Linked DNA regions of Homo sapiens: region 1 is linked to region 2. The links are contacts of gene promoters, found by promoter capture Hi-C in blood cells and fetal thymus (Javierre and others, 2016). All regions are on one chromosome and are shown on one strand. The core of a region is centred on a gene start or on the middle of the fragment in contact, and the rest is flanking DNA. Distances in the headings are between cores, read along the strand shown. Region 1 holds the start of PTPRM (protein tyrosine phosphatase receptor type M). Region 2 holds the start of ZBTB14 (zinc finger and BTB domain containing 14).

Region 1 (6,486 bases), core at 1,799-4,298, 2.3 Mb after region 2:
GCTACCATACAGAACAGCAAAGCTTTCAATCACCGCTGTCAATGGAACACAAATTAAGTGAAAATCTCAATTATAACAACACAGTGATTTTACTAAAGAGAAATATCAATTTTATAGAATAAATATATATGAATCATGTATATTACTTATCCATATAGCCTATCAAAGAAAATCTAGATATGTATAATGTCTAGCAGATATGCATAATTCAGTTGCTGATATTTTGCTTTTTGTCATATAAAATCTGTAGGTTTTATATTTCAATTTTATTGTTATATGTGTCAAGGTAGGAATATACATAGTAGTTTGCTAGCTTAATTAATAACTTTGAAATATTAGGCATATGGTAAGTGGCTATGCATTTGTACTCTTGCCCAAGCCTACCAATGTCAGGGGCTGGCCTGACAGCACCCCTAACTCTGAGCAGCCATTCTGCAAATGTCACTATTGTCCTCAGTGAGTCAGGAGTGAAATGTGGTTAAAACTAAATCTCTACTGCTGAAAAAACAAGTCAAAGCAAATGTCCCACTGGGAGGATTCCTACAGCATCCCTTCCTTAGAGGAAGTCCAATCCATTCATTTCAGCAGAGGACTTCCATTTAGGCTCAAAGGCTGCTCTGACCAGTTACCTGTAAGAGGGAGTAAACTAACAGTAGTTGTCATGAATTGAGAGGGCAGAAGCTGCTGGCAAAAATCCCACCACCCTTTGAAATGTGGATGGAAGGCTGCAAAGGGTAGAGTCAACTTAACAGTGTAAAGATAGAGAACAGGGGTAATAGAAATTTACAGACCCTCCCACTAAGCTTTAAGTAACAGGCAGAAGGGACAGGGTTTGTAGAGGTTACCAAGAGGAGTCCTGTGGCAGCAGCAGTTGGAGTACTGGCAGGGATTTCTGTCTAATGCCTCAGTGGCAGGTCCGTAGAGTGGCCCTTTCCTCTTCCATCCAGCTCCTCATCGTCCCCCCGCAGGGGGATTGAGTTTCCCTTGCCCATAGTGGTAACCTGCTTATTGACACATCTCATATCGATGTCTGCTTTTTTTTTTCTTCTCTGTCTTGCTGTCTCACCTTCCTTATAGTGCTTTCTGGGATCACTTCCCCAATTCAAAACCACTTATAGTTAAATCCTAACCTCCAGGTCTGTTTCTGAGGGAGCCCAGCCTAAGACAACCTCCAGTACTTAGCACAGTGCCTGACATATGGTATTGACTCAGTAGATATTTGCTGAAAGAATAAAATACTTTGCAAATGAAATCCTACCCTAATATTAACTTCACCTAATTTAAAGAAGTTACTCTGAAGCAAAGTGATTAGATCAACTTTTGTCTCCCTAGCTTCCACCTCTGTCCTCCCACTAGCAGAAAAACTCCATTGGAAAGCCTATTACTAATTTTTTTTAAAGCAAATTTGAACTGCAGTATAGAACACAAGTACATCAAAATGGAAAGCCCAGGTTGCAGATTTGACCATCCTCACTTGCTGATCTTGAAGACATTGCTTCCTTTCTGAGATTTCAATGTTCATTTCACAATTAAAGATAAGGTTCCATAAGCACATAGTTGGGAGAAGTGGCAGGACAATGTAAGCTCATATTAACAAGCAAATGATTAATATAGAGACTTCTAAAGAGCAGGTCTGGTAAGTATCTAGTAAGTGGACTTCCTGAAGTAAGAGGAGTGTTGGTTGCCACACTAAAGGCAAGTCTTCTAGTCCCCAAATTTGCCTTGGGAGGATGACAGCTGTATCTTTCTTGGTTCTGGTGTACAGTGGAGAACAGGGTCAAGATGAGTGTGGAATCCATTTATTTTTTTACGTGTTTATAAGCACTAGAAAGCAGTGAGCACTAAGCAGAGGACCCCTCTTGCGGAAAAAGTGCAGGAGAGCTCCTGGGTGCCTCTGTATCACCGGTTTGCCTTCTAGCCAGAATCATTGCTAGAACCCTGTCACTCAGTTACTTTGGTTCCTAATTTAACCTCTTCCCAAGCCTTCTATTGCGTTCAGTTAGCTAGGCCAGGAGCTTACAGCTGTCTGGTTGGTGCTGGCTCAATGTGCTTATTCCCTGGAAGATAGAAGGATCACTTACAAAAAAATTTACAATTAAAATAAAAAAATTATTTTTTGCTGAAGCATTGTAAGGTTTTTTTAATTCACTCAGACCCAAAATCGTAAAACTAAAATATTTCAAGACATTACTTGATTCACCCCCCACTTCTCTTTCTCCCCTGTTTCTCAGCACTTTGCACCAGATACAGAAACCACGGGTTATGTCCAAACCCTGGTTTTGGTGTGACCACCGCCTTCCGTGTACTGCCTGCGGCTCGCTTCGGGCCCACACGGGACACCGAGGCATGATGAGGACGCAGAACAGCAGAAGCGCGCCCTGCTTCCCGGGCGCCAGTGCTCGGGGCCAGCGGCGTGTACCCGGCGGGCCCGGCCGGGAGCGGGCTGGCGATCGCGGGGCTCGGCGCTCCCGGCTCCCGCGCCATCTCCCGGCGCCCGCCAACTTCGCTCCGCCCGCGGCGTAGAGAAGCTCGCAGCCCTCCGGAGCCTCAGCGATCTCCTGGCTCGCTTTTCCCGCAGCCGCCGAGCAGCGCAGGCCCGGCGACTCCGGGTGCAGCTGGCCCTGTGCGGTGACATCGCCGTCCGGCGCCAGGCTCGAAGCCGCCTGGCCGCGCCCGCGGGGTCGCAGGCCGCTGGTCCCGCCCGGCCGCGCTCACAAACTACTCGCGGCTCGTGACCCGGGACAAACTTCTGGCGGCGGCGCAGCCTCTTCCACAGTCACCCTCCCCAGAGCCAGCTACCAAAATAGAAGACGCGGCCGGGGCGAGGAGGTGGGCGGGGGGAGCCCGGTGGCCGCTCCTCCCCGCGCGGCTGACGCCCGCTTCGGCGGCGGTAGTGGCTGTGGCCGCGGGGCCGCCCCCAGCCGAGCTCCCGGAGGCGCTCGGGCGCGGGCCGGCGGGGCACGGGCGCTCACGCCCTCTAGCGGGCCGCGGCGGCGCCGGGCGGCCGTGACGTGAGCGCTCCCTTCAGCCGGCCTGCGGGGCACCGCCAGTCAGTCGGGGAGCAAGAGCCCCGCGCGCAGCCGGCGCGGGCTCGGTCATCGGCGCGCCGCCGCCCGGGGCTGGGCTTGGGGCTGCCTGTGGAGAGGCGGCGGGCGGAACGCGCGCGGCCACGGCCACGGCCACCGCCACGGCCACGGCCGGCAGCTCGGGTCCCGGGTCCCGGGCAGGGGAAGGGGAGAGGCGGCGAGCTCAGCAACCGGAACCGAGGGAAGATTTTGGCTCCGCGGGCTCGCCCTCCGCTCCCTCTGCCAGCGGCGCCAGACGCCGAGTGGGGCCAGGGACAGGGGAGGAGGACCCAGGACCCTGTGCCCGCGCCCCTGGAGCCGCTGGAGTTCGGACTTCTGCAACTGTTGGCACTTTGGGGGCTTGGCTTAGCGCTCTGCTGTTTACCCGTCTCTCCTCGCTGCCTCGGAACCAAAGCTCCCGGCCCCCTCCGCCCTCGCGCGCCCACCCACCGCCGCCGGGGAGCGGCCCGGCCCGCACTCAGCACCATGAGGGGACTTGGGACTTGCCTGGCGACTTTGGCCGGACTTTTGCTAACTGCGGCGGGCGAGACGTTCTCAGGTAAGCGGGACCGCCTCTGCCGCCCCCGAGGCGCGCGGGCCGGCGCGGGACGCCCGGGACGCCGACAGCTCCCTGGTGGTAGAGCCCTAAGGCTGGCGTCGGGGCCGGGCGGGGGGCGCGGCGGGCCGGACACCGCTTCTGCCTGTGAGCCGGGCGCTGGGCGAGGGGCCGTGGGGCTGGCAGGCACCCAGTCCTCGGGCGGGCGGAGCGGACGGACCCCGAGGGCGAGCTCCCCAGCCGGGACTGCCAGCTCGGCCGCCGTCCTTCCGCGGCCTGGGCTAGTGCTCAAGGTTGGGCGGCTTGCACTCTTGAGTCCCTGGCCGGCTGCAAAAGGAACAGCAGAAAACTTTGCTTGAAGTTCCCAGTTGCAGCCGCCGGGCCGCCTGGCGTAGGCGCTGCGCGGTCCCCGCCGACCCCGAGCAGCGGCCGGGCCCAGGCCGCTGGTGTTCGGCTGCGCCCGCAGCGATCGCCGGGAACTGGCGGCCGCTCCGGCGGCGGCGATCTCCCGGTGCCCTGCCCTCCCTGTCGCCCCCTGCCCGGCGCGGCTGGCGACCCCGGGAGGTCCCCGCGGTCGTGCAGCGTCTGCGGAGAGGCTGGGGGGAGTTCCTCGCCGGTCCCAGCGGTAGGGCTTGGCGGCCGCGGAGGGAAGCGGGCAGGTCCCCAGGCCCTGGCCACGGCCCTGCGCCCCGCTGGGCTCCCCCTCCCCACCCTCGTCCCCCTAGCGGAGCGCCGCGGCCAGCTGCAACTTGTTCATCCAGCCCGGCTGCCCGGGGGTCCCAGGTGGGAAGGAGAGGCACTGGCGGTGTGCGAGCAAGCGTGTGAGTGTGTGCGCGTGTGTGCCTGCACGCGCGCGCGGGGGCGTTCTAAGCCCAGAGGAACCCCTCACGGAGAGGATCTGTGGATCGGAGTCGGGGGTCCGGCGTGGGGGCGAACCCGGCACGCTGTCACAGGGGTTTACAACCAGGATGACCTTTATTACCTGGGTGACACAGGTGGATAGACGGCAAATGCTGGCCCATTTGCACACCTTCTTTCTAGTGTTTATTAGATTAGTTTCATTAAGGTCCACATGCAGTGGGGGCGGTGGGCTTTCTTTTTCTTTAATAAAAAAGCCTGCTCTTTGGTCTTAAACTTGGTTTTTGCAAAATAGGTCTCTGCGTTTGGGAACAAGTGAGTTGAATGAGTAAGTTGGGCTTTTTAAGAATTTAATGAAGAGGACTTTCATAAACAGTAAAGAGCATATTTTAAGCAGTAAAAACCTTTGGTCCTCCGGTGCGTGGAAACCTTTTTATTTTCTTGGGGTCCAGGACCATTGGCTGCTGGAGCTCTGGACTCACAGGCACATTAGTTGTGTCTTGTGTGTTGCTGATCTGCAGGACCCTTGATCACAGTTGGCCTCAGAGAAGGAGTGGAACGTGTAGGTTTTGAAACCCAAAGCATCAACTTCAATACAGAAATATCCTTTCTCCAAGTTTTGTGTTTCCCTAACTGCCTGGTAATTGCACGTGCTCCAGAGGATTTAACACAATGATGCACTGTCGTCTGATTATAAAACTGATGCAGAATTTGGTCTGTGTTCTTATTAGTGAATAATAGAGTAGAATTTGAGAGCCTTGTAACTCATTAGTATTAGAAGCCAAGTATGAGAGCCCTAGTGATGGTTTTCTCTTTATTAACATCCATGACTCCCTTCTTGGGATTTGTTTAAAGTTAAGCTGTGTCAAATATCATTTGGATGGATTTTTAAATTGTGTGCAAGGGAGTGGAAACAAATATTTATATTGCTTATTTAAACCATGGGTTCCTCATCACCAAAAAGGATTTCAGCCTCAGTTGTACTGACCCATGTCCTTGTTAAGGCTGATGTAAATGATCAGTCAAGCCAAAATAGACTTCTACTAAAATTTAGCCTGATTTTTCATTTGGAAGAAATATATCTATTTGTTTGAGTTAATCATACCATTAAGTGAAATGTGTTTTCTTTTCTATCTAGAAAGCCAGAGTTATCCTGGCATGCTAGTGGGTAAAGGGCAGCATCCAAGCCATGCCTCAGAAACGTTGAACTTTAAAAAATGTAAAATTGGATTAGCTGGGTGTGGTGGCGTGTGACTGTAGTCCCAGCTGCTCTAGAGGCAGAGGCAGGAGGATAGCTTGAGCCCAGGAGTTTGAGGTTGCAGTGAGCTATGATTGCACCACTGCACCCCAGCCTGGGTGACAGAGTGAGAATCCGTCTCAAAAAAAAAGTGAAAAGTGAAGATGGCAAATTTCATATGTGCAAGGATCAGATATGTTTCACTTCATTATTTATTTTTCTCTCCATATTGCGTTTAGGTAGTACAGGTGTGAATCAGGGTTTTGTTTTTTGTTTTTGTATGTTGAGGAAGTTAATTCTGAATGCTAGGAGTGGCATTGACACATTTCTTTTTTATGTTTCTTCCAGAAATTGTAGTAATTGGCTGCTTTTCACTTGACATGGGAATAAATTTTAGAGCCAGAAGAGCTAGATTGTAAGCTCCCTGAGGGCAAAGCCAATTTTCGTTTTCTTCTGACTTTCTCACAAAACATTTCTCATAGATCCTTAGATGTCACAGGCATTATTACTATTTGTTGAATAAATCACTAATGAGAATCTTGATCATTTGCACATATTCAAATTGTGTGTGAATGGACCAATATATAATAAAATGGAGGGAGAGAAGTGATTGTTAAAAGTTAGACTTGGCTTGCCTTTTCCACACTGGGTTCTCTTTAGGCCAATGGACTAATCATGAGGGTTTATAAATATAATCAGTCAAGGGTTTTTGTATAACTCAGACATTATCTACACAAGGCACTCTGCCCTTTGCTTTCTGCAGTGCTCTC
Region 2 (6,670 bases), core at 3,250-5,749:
GTGGATTTTTAGGTGTTCTTTCAGGTGGGCCTGTGTGGTGAAACCTTTTGTGCACATTTCACAAACAAATGGCCTGTCCGCCGTGTGGAGTTTCTCATGCTTCCTCAATCTGCCTTCATCAGAAAACGTCTTCCCACACGCCTGGCAGGCAATCTGCTCCCGATGGTGACCATAAAGCAAATACTCAAACTTCATGTCACTGGCGGCTGTTGTCCAGCCTGGTGTCTGTTCATCTTTCACTTCACTCATCCCATCATTAAATGTTAAGGCTTGAGGGGTCTGGGACCCCAAGTCTTTTGATTCTGGGGTCTCCATGGATTCTACTTCCTGGCCGTAGCAATTGACCTTCCGAACTTCCTCACTCCCCAGCTCTTTCAGGATCGCTTCCTGAACCCTGAGCGTTGTGGTGGGCGACTTGCCGTCCTCCTGACTCGGGGGTGTGCCTTCTACTGTGTCATCAGAAGGACTGTCATCCTGATCCCCGATTTCCTCTACATCATCATCCTGGGTGTCAGCAGCATCTCCAATGGGGCGATTTATTTTAAGGCAATACTTACTTTTGGACTGACCATTGTTTTCATCGGGACTGGACACATCACGCTTCTGAGAACACAGTTTATCCAAAAATCGGATACCAAGAATCTGACCCGATGACATCATTAAGTTAACATCTTCTTTTTTCACGGAAATCTTTGCTGTGTACATGTAGTTCAGGACCTCTTCAAATATATCAGAACGAAGAAAATCTATTTCTATGACCGAAGAACTATCAACCTCAAGCTTCTTGAAAAGCTTTTTAAAGTAAGTGCTGCAGGCAGCAAGAACACATCTGTGTGCTCTGAATTTCACATCCTCAACCACAATAGCAATATCACAAAATTCTCCTTCCAGGCGTTGTTCATTTAGTGTTTTCAGAAACAGAGTTTTATGATCATCGTCATTATATTTAATGGTTTCAGACATACTGATGAAAAACTCCTACAAAAAAAAAAAAAGTTTAGTAATTATAAATAGTACTTTTCCATATAGAGAACACAGTCACATTTTCATTTCCTGGTCAATCTATGGAACCTAACAATTTCAGAAAGTCAATGTTAAGAGTGGTCTTTGAATATGGGTAGAAAAGACTGATCCCAACTCAAGGATCTCCATATTGTTACTCCTGTTCATCTTCAATTTACTAAGTATTTGCCTAGTTATATCCCAGGCATTGTTCTATGTGCTTTACATGTTTTAATTAATTTAATATTCAGGTAACCTCATGAGTACGTATCACTATCCTTATTTTAGAGACAAAGTTAGAAATCTGCCCAATATTCTATAGCTATTTAGTGAAGAGCTGGGACTTAAATGCAGACAATCTGGCTGCAAAACCAGTGCTTCCTGACTAGAGATAATCAAATAACTCAAACTCAAGTTTTAAGAAACAGGTTCAAGGGAACAATCCTCTAGTCCTCTCTGTTGCACCTACTCTTATTCCATCTACTCTATGGAGGATTCAGCAAAATAATTATGTTATACCTCCTTGACAGAAGGAACAAATTACTATTGCAGAACTAGAGAGGAACATTACTGCCAAAATATCCCATTGAGTGTTGTGTTCTAGATTTTCCACAGCACTTTTGGGCCACTTCTAAATGAAGGTCAAGGTTTAATCTGACCTTAAGAGAATGAGATGACATTTGGGAAGTGGCTTTGTTCTCTCTAGATGCCAATCTACCTGCATCCAGATAAAAGTGCCATCAACACCAGATGTAAGTACTTGATAAGTGCTGAGAGTATTTTATAAGCAAAAATTTGGAACTGGCATGAAAGATCTCTGTCATCATGTTAAAAAACTGGTCATCTTAAAGCATTCTCTATGTTTCCTTTTTAAAAACATTGTTTTACTTTTATTCGGCTAATATTTTCCCCCAGACAAATAGAAGTGTTCATGCACAATCAGAATTGGTATATATATTTTAAAGCAAATGCCAAGTCATTTTCATCAAGATTTAATATCCAAAGTTATAGTTACCATGAACAACTCAGGCTATTATCTTAATGCCTTGAACGCCAAAATCTTCAGATCAGAGTAACTCTGATCAGGAGCACGCCAGACCTACAGAGGAAAGGATAAACAAGAATGAGGTAGGATCTTCCTGTATCCCAAATCCTAAACCAAGAATTGATTTTTTAAAAATAAACTTTCTTGTTCCCTCTTTTGTGCATTTTCAGGTTGGGGAGAGTGGCAGGTAGGTAGCTGGTACATCAAGTGCAGTTCTGAACAGATATGGACTAGAACAGATAAGGGCTGTAGCACTCGGGCATAAAGGGGCTGTGCCCTAGGAACTGGAAGGAGGGGTTGGAGAACCATTAAGGGATTTCTCCTCACACACTAAGCTCATGTCCATATTTGTACAGAGATTGATGGCTACACAGATATAGAAAAAAACAAGTGCACCGTGCCCCCTACACCTATCCCATTTCCCGCTGGGTATGTTAGCCCTCTACATTTTTCTCTCGGCTCATACAAACCTATAGAAGTATATACCTTACAAATAAAGCTATAGAAGTACATAAACCCAACAGGTAACATGGGAGGAGAGGGAACAATGATTGCTTTTTCTTTCTGCACCTGTGTGATGTATTAATAGCATACACGTTTGTTTTTAAGATTGTATTTGATAAATCCAGGTGTTTTTACCTCTATCCCTACAATAAGGGTGAAAGAATTTCAGCTTTTTTGTGAGTTTTAACTCTTACCGGAAGAACTCCATCCTGCAGACCCATATCCTGAAAAACAAAAAGTTTCCTCTACTGAACAGTGACCACACAGATAAGTTGTTTGGTGTGGTAGGAGCAAAGGACTGGGCTGTAACAGTCTTACACAAAAACCATGGAACAAGACTCCAACCTGGAGACCAACACCTTGAAACCCATAATAAGCTCCTTCTAAAGAAAAGTGAACACACCGAGCTACCCAGCGTAGAAGCGGGATGTCTCATCTGAAGTTTGAGGTTAGGCAACATTTCCAAAAGATGATTCTGACTTGATCATTCTACGTGTTTCTGCCTCTCTATTCCCTAGAAGCACCCAGGCCTGTAATCATCCAGAGGCTAGGCAGCCCAGCAAAAACCTTACACTGTGACACTTACTACTGTTGTCACTAACTCGTCCTAGGGCTTGTGGGATAAAAGTGCATGGGACCAGAGAGAGGAGTGGCCTTAGACTAGCTATGACAACATATCAATGTGTTGTTGTTGTTTTGGCTAGTGTGTACTTGGCCACTCGCCCCTCTCCCCTCTCTCTCTCAAGATGTATGAGACCTGGAAGAGAGACCATGTGTGTCCAAAGCCGCCTCCTCCCCGCCCCGCCCCCCTTGCCATTGAGATGTCCAATTGCTCAGTTCAGGTGAGTCAAAACTGGAAGACAGCTGTTGCCAGCATCTGTGTAGGCAGGTGTAGGAAAAGACGTAGCCCCAACACCACCTTCATAATAAGGCTGCCCCTTCCTAATTGCTCTCCAAACTGCGGGCGCGCTAAGCCGCGTTACAGTGCAGGGAGCCGGGCTTCCCGCAAAGCCAAAAACTTACATAAGCAGCTGCAGCCGCCTCCCCTGCCCCGGGCAGCCCGACAATGGCGGCTGCACGACTTCCTTGTTGCAAGCTTGCAACTTCGGAGTCGGGAGGAAGCAGGGAGCCAAGCGCAGACCCAAGAAGCCCTCAAGGCGTATCGAGTCCTCCCTCTCAATTTCTTTGGGCCTGGGAGGTGGGGAGTGGAGGAGGCCGTTTGCACTCCTTCCCAGACAAAAGCTCCCAGCCTGGGAGCCAGGTGGTGAAAGGGCCACTTTCCCTTTCATAATCAGACGTCGAGCGCAGGCTTGGGACCGCGGCTCGGAGCGCGCAGGGAGGGACTGCGGCCCGCGGCGGCCCCGGCGGCGCGACGAGCGGGAGCGGGCGTGCGGCCGGCTCCGCAGCCCCGCGCCGCGCCGCGCCCCGCTCCGCCCGCGAGCCCGGAGCTCGCGCCCCGCGCACTCCCCGGCCAGCTCGCGCCGGGCCCTCCCCCGCCCTCCCGCGGCCGGGGGCGGGGGCGGCGCGCGGCCGGCTAACCCAAGCTCCGCGGGCGCACCCGGGAGTGCGTGCGCTGGGTCCCGGCCCCCTCCTCCGCCGGCGGCTGTAGGCGGCGCGGCGGGGCCCGCGGCTCGGAGGGGCGGCGCCCGGCGGGCCGCGCTCCGCGCTGGGTTCGGGCCGTCCCCACCCCCACCGCGGTGCACTGCGGCGGTGCGAGCGGGGGCGGCCATGAACTCGGCCGCCGAGGCTCTGCGAGCGCGCGCGCGGGGCCGCCGCCGCCTGGCCGCTCCCCGAGCCCGCTCGCCGGCCCGCGCGGCCCCCGGGGCGCCCCGGCCCCACGCCCAACCCTGGCCCACGCCCGTCCCCGCTCGCACCGCGCCGCGCCGCTGGCGGCCGCCGCACATCCTGGAGCTGGCTGGTGCCCCAGAGCTCGGCGAGAACGCGCGTCTTCCGGGCCGCCCCGCCAGCCGCCGGCCGCCCCCGCGCCCGCCTTGCGGACGGCCCCAGCCCCTTCCGCACCCTGGCCCGCGCTTACCTGCAGCCTGGCACAGGCACAGACACTGCCGTGGGTTCCCCGCGCTCGCTAGCAAACGCAGGCCGGGACCGGAGGGGCTCGGGGCGCGGGGGCACGGTGGGTGGCAGTGTGTTTTGGATTTTTTTTTGGAGTTTGGGGAGGGGGCGGGGTGGGGGAAATCGTGCACGTCCCTGATGGTAGCAGCCCTCCTCCTGCACGAGCACAGAATGTCTAGCCGGCCGTGAACACCCCCACCGCCCCCCCCTTCCCGTGCATGCGCGGTGCGGGCTGGGGGGAAGGCGCGCCGCCGGCTTGCGCAGGCACGGAACCCGACCGGGTCTCTAAGTGGGCGAGCAAAGAAAGGGTTAATCCGGGCCCTTGCCGACGCTTTCGTTGGAGACTACGGGGCCGCCCCCGGAGGGCCCTGGCCTGCGCACGCGCGCGCACGCGCGCGGCTTGGGGCGCGCGGAGCCCGCGCGCGGGAGAAGGAGTGGGCGGGGCAAGGGCGGGGCTTCGGGAGCCAGGGAACTTAAGCACGAGCGCTGCTCGCGGACACCCGCCCCGCCTCAAGCTCCCTCCCGCCCTGGTTCGTGGGCTTCCGCCCGCGCCCGGCGCCGGCGCAGCGCCGGGGACGCGGGAGCCAGCGCTCCCGTGCGTGTGCATGTGCGTGGGCCAGAGCCTCCCCCGGGCGCGCGCAGGCCGGGCGCTGAGGCTGCGGGGCTCTGCCGCGTCTCGGAGCGGGCGCCCCGGCCACTTTCGCCCTCCGCGCACACCGGCCGACACCGGGAGGCGCGCCCACGGGTCTGCGGTCTTGCCTCTTGCCGCCGGCACATTGAGTTTGTGGGGGAGTGGACGGTGCACAATAAACACTTGCAGAACAAATGGAAAAAGCGACGTCTTCGATTTGTAGTGTAAAGCGCAACCCCAGTTGCCCAGCAGAAAGGGATCACCCATAGGGCTTCGGAGCTAGTAGGTCCGCGCCCGGACACTCCAAGGAAAAGTCCAGGGGCTGGAGGCGGCGACCCGTCTGTGGCAGTCCAGACCCTGGACTCGATTCGGAGAGCTCTGATAACTTGGCTCTGTCCTTAACATCCCTGCTCAGCGCCAGTAATGGCTCCGTTGCTGTTGAACCACGTCGCCTTCCCTCTGACGCGGCGGCTGTGCCTGTGTCTGGCGTCGGGAGCTGGGAAGTCCCTCCCGCTCCCGCGTTTTCTGCTCACCGAGATGCAGGAGGCCGGACAGCAATGCCGCGCCGCCTTAGAGTCGCTCATGTTGCTTTACCTCACACGCGAAGTTTCCCCGAAACGCGTAATTTAATATCTAAAGATTAGAGCAGAAGCTTCCTCTTGGGCTTATTGAAGATGACATAAGATAGTGCTTGCAACAGGCACCTAAGTAAACATTTGGGAAATAATATGATGATTGGATGTGTTAATTTTCTAAAGGAAGTTCTATATGGCCTCAGTTGATTTTGTAATGTTAATTGACTTTGGTTTAACGTTCCCCAAGGCGACTTTATACGCATCTTTTTTGATGTTCACAAAAGCACCCAAGTTACGGCTTATATGGAGGAAATAGGATGGAAGAGACCGGTTGTAGAGTCAGACATATCCAGTTCACATATTGGGTAAATTGTTTAACTTCTCTAAACCTCAGCTGAAGGAGAGCTATGGAAAGCACCTAATAAGGCACTTGTAAGGATTAAGTGAAATAATGCCCAGCTAAGGTATTAGCTCCATGATGGAAAATCACCTGCACCCACAGATAGTGGGTTCCAGTGGCCTGGACAGAACCAGAACCAAGTCTTCTGCCACGAAAGTTCACACTCATCAGACATGATACCGTGTACTCGCTTTATTCTTGTTTGCGTAGCTCTTGAAGTTGCATTTCAATCCTGTGGATGCTGTGTGTTTATAGGGGGATAATAATAGTACTCTGTCATAGGGTTGCGTCACCAAGCAGTAAAGCAGCCACTGCAGTTAGCACAATGTGTGGACACGGCCAGTACTCAAGTCATGGCGCATCTGCTGCTGGCGCTCCCCCTTCTCCCATACCACATATGGGGTTTCCCACTCATTCTGCGTGTATTTTTGGTCTGCCTACTG

What was found. Contacts are between HindIII fragments. The CHiCAGO score rates a contact against its expected background, and 5 or more counts as called.
Region 1: the fragment with the promoter of PTPRM here is called in contact with the fragment with the promoter of ZBTB14 in region 2 in 1 of 17 cell types (erythroblasts); the score reaches 5.6 in erythroblasts.

What each region holds. Positions count from the first base shown.
Region 1 is chr18:7,564,268-7,570,753 of GRCh38, forward strand. It overlaps PTPRM (protein tyrosine phosphatase receptor type M), which reads left to right and starts at 3,049. Exons shown (of 33, transcript NM_001105244.2): 1 at 3,049-3,624. The coding sequence starts at 3,552. RefSeq lists a silencer at 2,730-3,099. The HindIII fragment of the contact is 6,488 bases long and covers 802-6,486 here.
Region 2 is chr18:5,291,227-5,297,896 of GRCh38, forward strand. It overlaps ZBTB14 (zinc finger and BTB domain containing 14), which reads right to left and starts at 4,500. Exons shown (of 4, transcript NM_001243702.2): 1 at 4,426-4,500; 2 at 2,746-2,775; 3 at 2,018-2,101; 4 at 1-978. The coding sequence starts at 2,020. RefSeq lists enhancers at 3,083-3,770, 3,771-4,457, 5,146-5,831, 5,549-5,708 and silencers at 3,899-4,838, 4,919-5,338. The HindIII fragment of the contact is 2,257 bases long and covers 3,646-5,902 here.